2 separate regions of the Homo sapiens genome follow, and region 2 is linked to region 1. Evidence: promoter capture Hi-C in 16 types of primary human blood cells and fetal thymus (Javierre and others, 2016). All regions are on one chromosome and are shown on one strand. The core of a region is centred on a gene start or on the middle of the fragment in contact, and the rest is flanking DNA. Distances in the headings are between cores, read along the strand shown.

Evidence for each region. Contacts are between HindIII fragments. The CHiCAGO score rates a contact against its expected background, and 5 or more counts as called.
Region 2: a fragment that was not itself captured here is called in contact with the fragment with the promoter of TSPAN18 in region 1 in 5 of 17 cell types (M2 macrophages, M0 macrophages, total B cells and 2 more); the score reaches 9.4 in M2 macrophages.

The regions. Positions count from the first base shown.
Region 1 is chr11:44,725,630-44,730,185 of GRCh38, reverse strand. It overlaps TSPAN18 (tetraspanin 18), which reads right to left and starts at 3,224. Exons shown (of 10, transcript NM_130783.5): 1 at 2,899-3,224. The region is part of intron 2 of TSPAN18-AS1 (TSPAN18 antisense RNA 1); the gene reads left to right. RefSeq lists enhancers at 719-1,219, 1,220-1,722, 3,438-3,607, 2,974-3,835, 3,836-4,556 and silencers at 2,092-2,261, 3,098-3,247. The HindIII fragment of the contact is 6,014 bases long and covers 1-4,074 here.
Region 2 is chr11:45,106,088-45,110,522 of GRCh38, reverse strand. It overlaps LOC105376652 (a long non-coding RNA gene), which reads left to right. Exons shown (of 6, transcript XR_931241.3): 5 at 3,203-3,415; 6 at 3,765-4,038. It also overlaps a transcript of PRDM11 not described here. Among named protein-coding and RNA genes, the nearest start is that of PRDM11, 38 kb to the left of the region's middle. The HindIII fragment of the contact is 3,233 bases long and covers 360-3,592 here.

The sequences.
Region 1 (4,556 bases), core at 1,975-4,474:
GCAGGAGCTGGTTTCTGAAGCTGCTGCATTCACTCAACGCAGGATTTTGCTGTGTACAGGCGGGCAGAGAGAGGCAAGCCAGCCCGGAGAGGCACCTTCCACTGAATGGAAGGCAGAAGGAATGGAGCAGGGCTGCCCAGCCCCCTAAAAGGTTAGACTCTCCTGCTCTAAGTTGCAAGATAGCTCAGAATCTCCTCAGCCAACATATTCATTTTACAGACGGAGGAAGCAGGCTCAAGAGGGGAAATAACCTGCCCAAGGCCACACGGATGACTCAGAAGAGCTAGATTTCAAATCTGCTATTTTCCCTCTTCCTGGCACCCCCTCCCACACATCCTTGAATTAATCCTGTGTCCCTACCCAGCACCCTGCCCTCCAACACACCCCTCAGACCATTAAAATCTCATTTTTTAAAGGGCAGAGGGTTCCTTCCTGGACTCAGCCCAAGGTGTCCTAAACCCAACCCCAAGGTATCCTAAACCCAACTAACTTCGGCTTCTAGAAAGTGTCCTGGAGCTTTCAATGATGTGCTACCATTTCAGACTGGGGTTGGGTAAAAGCACCACATATACTGGCTGTTTGAATGGGTTTGGGGACAAGGGAGACAAGGAAACAGAGTGCCCAAGACTTGAAATGTTGCTAAATCAGAGATCTTGGAGTTTGCCTGGGAGAAGACTGAGCCCACACAAGATACTTTAAGCCCAAACACAGACTTTAGTAGCCCTTGGGGACCTTCAACTCCCTCTCCAATTCAGGAAAAGTGGGGTGGGGGTAGGGAGAAGAGGGGAGGGACAGAACACGGGAAACGCTGGCCTTCTAGGGGCCCCATGCTCCCAGGCAGGTTCCAAGGCAGGGCTGGTCCATGCAGGCTTCCCTCCACAGAAAAACAAGAGTCACTAAAAGCAAAACACAACAAAAAAAAACTTCTTTTGTTTTCCAGCCCCCTGGAATGTCTTAAAGACCTATCCAGACACAGCAGGCTTCTCCACCCTTTCCTTTCTCTCCTCTCTCCTCCTCCTCTTCTATTCAAAATAAAAATCATGCTGATCTGTCTTTATGGCAACTTTGTCCTGGAGCATTTCAGTAGCATCCAACAAAAACATGTGGCAGACTACATTGAACAGAGGAACCTCATCTCTTTCAGGGACCCCCATTTCCCCCACCTTTGTAAGGGACATTAAGGACATGGGAGCAGGAGGGGGGCTGCCCAAGGAGCACAGGTTACCAGCTAAGAGAAAGATGAAAACTTCTACCAACCACAATGAGGCCACGGCACAATCTATGATTTGCTCCTTTGCACTCACTTGGGGTGATGGGAGGAGGGAGGGAACTGGAGAGAAAGATGAGGCAATAGTCCCTCCAATGTCCCTTCAATGTTAGCCCCGCACATGACAAAGATGACAGTCCTCACAGATGCCAGCAGCCGTCGACTTCCCAAGGCACAGACACACAGACTCAACATACAGGGACCCTGAGGCCAGACAACTGGGACCCAGGGCAGATTTCCACCAATAATTGTGAAATGACCAGAAGAATGTGGCCTAGAGACCACAGACCCAGGGGATGAGGGTGGGGGCCAGGGCTCGTTGACTGCTGAGAAATTTAACACTTCTGCCTGGACTGCTGAAGTCTTTAAGGCCCCATCCCCCACCGCCCGCCCTGTGCCTCCCAGTTTACTTGTGCCCAGAGAGAGGATACCCCAAGACCCCCATCCTGCCTTCACCAGACAGGGATTCGACCAGATCCAGGAAACAAAGGTGCAACTTTTACAAAAAGGGTGCATGCATTTTGGGGTTTGGGTTTCTGCAACTCCAAAAACCGTCAAAAAGTTAATTCCCCAACCCACTCTCTCTGCACCAATTCGCAGTTGTAGTTTCTTACATCTTTTTCTGGGGGTAAATTTCTTACTCATCCATTTGCCCTGGCAGCCTTCCCGAGAAAAATCACATCCTGACTCCTAGCCTTTCCAGCCCACGGCGCAGTTATAACTGTGAACCTTTCGCCTCACTCTTGGTCCCGCTCCCCCGTCTGGCTAGTGTAGGGCGGGCTCCTCGGGGCGGGACCCCGCGTAAGTTGGGTGTCTGTGGTCCCTGCGTCCTGGATGTCGGCGCGGTTGCCTCGCAGGAGCCAGAACGCGCTTCCTGCTGGCGAGGGCCGGGGCAGTGCGCCCCCTGGCGGGAGCCCAGTCACCTCACTCCAGCAGGACCCGGAGCCGGCGCGATCCCACCCGAGCCGAGCACCGTCCCAACTGGCTCCCACTGCCCCCTAAATCTGGACGTGCCCGAGCCTCCCACCCACCCAGCACTCCATGGAGTCTCCACTTCCCCAAACCGCACACACCTAAGGAATAAGGGGGGTCCTGGAGGAACGAGTGGCGCCTCCGCCCCGCCCCGCCCCGCTGCCAGGGACCCCAAAGGCAGCCCGCCCTCCATGCAGCTGCCGGGCCCCACAGCCCTCCCGGCCCCGATCGCCGCTCCCAGTCCCTGGTCCCTCACTGTCTTACCGGGTGGCGTGGCGAGCAGCCCCTTTCCGGGCGCAGCCCTGGCCGAAACCCCGAACCTTGTAACCACACCTGCCACCCCGCGCCGTTCTCCAGAAGCCCCCACTCCTCCACCCGGAGCACTGGGAGCCCACCGGCTCTGCACCTGTCCTGGGCGCAGCCCCCGGCCCTCAGCGGACTCCGGGCAGGCACGGGGTGGAGACCGTCCCCGGCCCCCCAGCCCCCGCGTGCTAGTTTGAGTGGAACTTGGTTGCCGGGCTTCCGTCCTGGGATCCCTACTCCACCCCAATTCCCCGCCGCGTCCAGCAGCACCCCCGGGGCGGCGCGCGGGGGGGTCCCCAGGTCCCCGGGGGCGCGGCGGCGGCGTGCGGAGGGCACGGAGGTGCGGAGCCCCATACCTTCCAGCGGCGGCTGCCGGACCCCGCGCCAAATCCCGCCGGCGGCCGGGGGGAAACTTTCCTGGTCGGAGGGGCGCGCTCGCAACTTGCCCGGCGCCGGCTGCCTTCCCGGCGGTGGCGGCGCGTCCGGGGACCCGCAGCGCGAGGCGGCGGCGCTCGCTCGGGGCTCGGGGCCGGGACCGGGGCCGGGGCCGGGGCCGGGGCCGGGGCCGGGGCTGGGGCCGGGGCCGGGGCTGGGGCTCGGGCGGCCTCGCGCGGCTCCGCGGTGGATCGCTCGGCGCTACGTCCGCCCCGCAGCCTGGAGCCCCGCGACGCCGGCGGCAGCTGCACGCCCGCCAGCCCGCCGGCCCCACCTCCGCCGCCGTCCGTCCCTCCCCTCCCCCGCCCTCCCTCCCCCTCCCCAAACCTCCGCCCCTCCCGGCTCCAGACGCCGTTGCTGCCGAGAAGCGCGTCTCCTCTGCGGGCTGCCCCTCGCCTCCCGCCAGCCTCCGCCTCCTCCTCCAACCCCGCGTCCAGGCCTTGTCTGGGGGTCCCTGGGCCCACCCTCTGCCCATCTCCCCTTCCTCCGCCTCCGACCACCTCCCGCTCTGCTCGCGGGCCCTCTCTGCGTCTGAATTCGGAAGATCGTTGCGGGAGTGGGGAGAGGGGCATGCTGGACCCGAAGTGTTTATTCCAGGGGAACTTTCAGCTGACCCCGGGGCCCAAACGCAGGGGTTGGGGTGAGATCCTCGGTCCTGATCGGGCTCCTGGGCTTCCCGCTGCCGGGGGAAGTACCTGTTGAAAGCCTGGGGAACTCACCCTCCTCTGACTTGCAGATAAGAAAGGGGACTTCCTGCATGGAGGGGCCTGACCCCAGGTCAGATGCAAATGACTTGATTGCAAGGGGCCAGATCTGTGTCTCCGGCCTCAGGGCTGAGGTTCTTGCGGGGCTGGGGAGCTTATCTTTTCTTCTCTGTACTGCTGCCACAGCAGCACTGGCTCCCAACCCCTGACATGACTTGCCTGAGACTTTTAACCTCTGAGCCTCCTCTAAACAACTACCCGACCCTGCCCCAGACAAAACGGACAAGCAAGCAGATCAAAACTGACAGCCCAAGTGAAAGTACTGATGACAGGGGCTCGGGTCGCCCACTCCTCTTCCCTTGGCAACTCTGTTTTGAGTCCCAGCTTGAAGCTTCCACACCCCATCCCCGTGGGCCCTAGGCATTCAAGCACACATCAGCTCTGCAGGAGGCCCCTTGGCCAGCTGATTCTCACTAAGGGGTGACTGATAGGAAGGAGTTGACCCTACTCCTGTCTTGTATATGGATGTTGGTAGTCAGGCCACTGGGCAGAGTTTGGGGGGAGGGGGATCTTCTTGTTTTGTTTTTGTTTTGTTTTTGAGACAAGGTCTCGCTCTGCTGACCAGGCTGGACAAGCCTGGTCAACAAGCACAGCTCACTGTAGCCCGACCTCCTGCACGGCTTACTGTAGGCTCGACCTCCTGGGCTCAAGCAATCCAATCCTTCCAACTCAGCCCCCTCGAGTAGCTGGGACCAGAGGCATGTGCCATCATGCCTGGCTAATGTTTTCTGTTGTTTTTGGTGTGTGTGTGTGTGTGTGTGTGTGTGTGTGTGTGTGTGTGCGTGTGTGTTTTGTAGAGCTGGACTCTTACCATG
Region 2 (4,435 bases), core at 727-3,226, 380 kb before region 1:
TGGGTCCGGCTGCATGTTGCTTTCAGGGTATTTCTCCTACCTGGCCCCATCAGTGACTGGCTTAGAAGAAATTCCTCAAACTCCTACCTGGCCCTTTAGAAAAATTGTAATGCTATCTAAATGCCCCACCTCTCATCCCCACCCCCCTTTTACGTTTTCCTGGTGAGTTCAATTAGGGTTGGGGGTGACATGTGGGCAAGCCAGATCTCTGTAAGGGCATGTACTCAGGGCTCTCATTTTTCTGGCTCCGAAGCTTAGCTGCCACTTCTTGGGTCTGCATAAGGATTAGTTGTTCTTGGAAGAAAAATAAAAGCCACCCCGATCCAAGAAAGGAGATGAAAAATTCTTTGTGTGAAGCTTAGCATTGCCAAAGGTGTAGGTACTGTCCCTCCCAGGGGTGTTTGCACGCAAAGTGTATAAACTACAGAAATAAAGGAGAGGTTTGGATGAAGGTCACTTTGGGTCACTGAGTTTTCCTAGTCAGAATCCTGACATATAGAGGGCTGATAACCACGTCTATGCTATCAGCAGGTCACACAGGGCACAGATGCCCACCTGCTCACTGCTGCAGTGCCTCCAGCTTTGAAAGGAGTGGTGACTGTGAGCAACCCTGGACACTGGAATGGGGAGGAAACATCCCTGAACAGGGCTTAGAGAGTATCATGGAACCAGAGACTCAGAAAGGGAAGGAATTTTAGAGACAAAAGCCCACCCTTCCCCATCTAGTGCTTCAATCTTTCTACCTTTTTGCTACCAGAAGGTTATCAGCTTACACTTACATACCCCTAGGGACAGGAGCTCACTACCTGATAAGCAGGCCCTGCTTTCCCTGGAAAGATCTGACTCAGAAAGCACTTCCTCCCACCATCCTAAATCTGCCCTGTTCCATCTCCCACACCTCAGTCTTGGTTGTGGCCCAGTGGAGCCACAGAGAACAGATACTCTCCCTCCTCCGCAGGATAGCCTCTGAATATTTTGAGAATGAGTAGGGCTCCTCCGAGTGGTCTCCTTTCTAGGGAGAGTTGATTAATTAGGACTCTTTTCATCTGTGCATGGTAGAGACAGGGCCTCACCATGTTTAGGGGCAACATGAGGAATTTCTGGTCACATAGCCCTGCGACATCCAAGGTGATGCTGGGTCAAGGAGAGTGAGTGATGTTGTCAGGGCACTGCTGTCTCTGGGTGTCCCTTTTCTTGAGCTGTGCTATTTTCCTTTCAAGGCAGGGGTGGGTAGAACCATGGCCACTGGCATTGCCAAGCCTGCATCCTACCTGTAGTAGCAAGAGACCGCCACTCCTCACCACTCTGGGTCAGGGCCAACTGCAGTTTCAGAGGGACAGAAATAGGAGGTGACCCAAAGAGGGTGCCTAAGCACAGGTCAGAGGTGAAAAGTCAGACTCAACCTTTCCTGAGGGGCGGGGACAACATTTTTCGGTTTCCAGCCTTGAGTGCCCAGAGGCCTGTGGCCAGGGGTGTTGACAGTCTCACAGGCTAAGCCCCGACATCTTCCTGGAGAGGCAACTTTCTTCACTGGAAGTCATTTAAAGCCCTATTTTTAGATTTAAACAAAAATGGAAACATTATGGAGCAGAATGCAGAATCTGCGTGTATTTTTTGAGACAAAACCCAAGACTTCAAAGAAATTTCACACTTGTGTCAGCTGCTTCAGGCAGGCTGCCTGGCCTGCGGGTGCATGTGTTAATTCTTGGTTGGCATTAGTGGGTATTTCAGGGGCAGGCTGAGAAAGTCTGAGTGGCACTGGGCCTGGGTCCCCACATAGCTACAGGCAGGGCTGGGGAGAAATGGGTCCAAGGACTTCAAAGACAGCTGCCACTGAGAGGCCCCTGGTGCCTCTGGGCACCACATTCCCTGAAAGGAGGCAGCTCGTCCTCACTCGGGAGTGAGGCCCCACCATGAGGACACACCTGCCTCTGGAATCCTGTCCAAGGGCAGGAGCCAGAGCCCAGGCTGAGCAAGGGATCCGTGGGCCCCAGCAGGAAATGCCAGCCGAGAGTGCAGGAGGCAGTGCCTGGCTGCTGCTTCCAGCTTTTCACAGAGCAGTGGGCACATGGGCAGGAGTGATCTTTGAAATATTTAACCCCAGAAGCTCATGGGACCAACAGTCAGAACAGACCTGGCCTGGTACTTGAGCAGGTCCCAGGGGCCCAATTGGACCAAGGCCACCCCTCAAGCTGCTGCATCATGGGGAGACACGGGGATCCCACGTAAGAGGCCAGGGCAGCAGGGCAGCGGGTCACACTCATGGGGAATTAGACAGCAGCTATTTACCAACTGGAGTGGACACATGCTGATATTTTAACAACCAGGATGGCAGCACTGGCTGAAAATGAGCCACGTGCATGGGTCTGATCAAGCGAGATTAAGATGAATCCAGGGCGGGGTGCAGTGGCTCACGCTTGTAATCCCAGCACTTTGGGAGGCCAAGGCCAGGAGTTTGAGACCAGCCTAGTCAACATGGTGAGACCCTGTCTCTACTAAAAATACAAAATACACACACAAAATAAGTTAGCCAGGCATGGTGGTGTAGACCTGTAGTCCCAGCTACTTGGGAGGCTGAGACATGAGAATCACTTGTACCCTGGAGTTGGAGGTTGCGATGAGTTGAGCTCTCACCACTGCACTCCAGCCTGGGTGACAGAGCGAGACTCTGTCTCACAAAAAAAAAAAAAAATCCAACCCACATTTATTGAGCACTTATTATATGCCAGGAACTGTGCTGGAGCCTTTATGTATATTAACTAGTTTAATTTGTACAATGCCACGCAAATCTATCAGTTCATTTAACACTACAGAGGATTGGTGTGAAAGCAACACGGAAAAGCCAGTCAGCAAACCTGACAGGCTTAGAGGAACCCCACCCCTACCCCTGCCCTGTCCCCCACTCAACTAGAGATGGGCATTTCCTTAAAGGCAGATGGCACAGAAGTCCAGACCTCCCTCTTGGCTTTCCCACTGCACCCCATCCACCCTCTGTTCTGCTTCATCAGTTGTCCACATTTGACATTCATTAGACTTACTCTTCACAACTGTATACACAAAACCATGTGTATCCATGCTGGTGGGGAGCATAAGAGGTTCTCAAGGGTCGTTTTGTGTGTACCTAATTTTTGCCTTACTGATTTAGAACTTGCCCCTGAAATGGGCTATGACTCATTGAACTATAATTAGCCCCGTTTTGCAGGTGAGAAAGTGGAGTTCGAAGATGTCATCAGCCCAGGTCACACAGATGGTGGAGACCAGTGTGGAGCCCGGGAGTGGGCTGAGCAGAGCATCTGGACTTTGAGCTTCCATCAGACCCTGAGATAGTCACCTGTCCTGGCTGCCTGGTGACCCTGGTGTGCTAACGTGGCACTTATCTTGCTCTATGGAGGCCCCTGGGCCCCCTAAACACCAGGTGGGTGCCTTCAGCCAGCCCCATACTGACCTGTGAAGCCCAGGTATTGCTGGCCAACCCACCCCACTCACAGACAGAAGCAGTTCTCCATCTTTTGGCTTTAGCAGATCTGCTTCATTTCTCCTCCCCACAAAGCCTGGACTTTGTTCTGGGGGTATCCCTGTTTGCAGTGAAGCTTTTTCACTCAGTGCTCAATCTGAGCCCAACTCCACCCCACATCTCTGATTCATAGACTTTTGTGACTGCCTTGACCAGTAGAGTATGGCAGAAGATGCTCTGTAACTTCCCAGGCTAGATCTAGAAAATGCCACGCATTTCTGCCTTGCTCTCCTGCGACATCCACTCTTAGAACCCAGTTGCTGTGCTAAAAAGAACTCACAGACCACGTGGAGTGGAGCAGATGGGTCAGTGTCCCAGGTGGCAGCCCGTGTCGGCCTCAGACCTGCACGTGAGGATGCCCACCAGAGGGTTCCTGCCACCACCGTCAAGTCACCCCAGCCTTAATCTTCCAGCCGGCGCCTCAGGCATTATGGGCAGAGGTAAACTGTCTCCATGATGCCCTTTCCAAATTTCTGACCCACAGAATCCATGGCTATAATAAAATGGCTGTCTTATGTGCTCAATTTTGGGGTGGTTTGTAGCATAGCAGTATAACTAGAACATCTAGCTCGTGAGAGAACCAGCAAAGAAAGCAAAAATCACCCCAGCCTATAAAGGGCCCTGAGGGTGGTGGGACCCATGGGTGACAGGAAACCAATCCCTGCACCCCAAGAGGTGGCAGGGCCTCCAACGAGAACGGCTGTGTGGCTTGCGAGGGAGCCTGCACCTTAAGCTGGGGCTGCCAACGGGGTGTAAACTGCTGAGCCCCTGGAAGCGCAGGAGCTTGGGACCTCCTACCTCTACAGACATGGCCAGCCTGGGCTTGAGGCCAGAGGGACTGCAGTGACCCCAGAGGCCCTTTCCTTCCCTCTGGGGCCACGGACACTTGCTGTCATCTGTGCTCTCTCAGGTGGGGGAAGT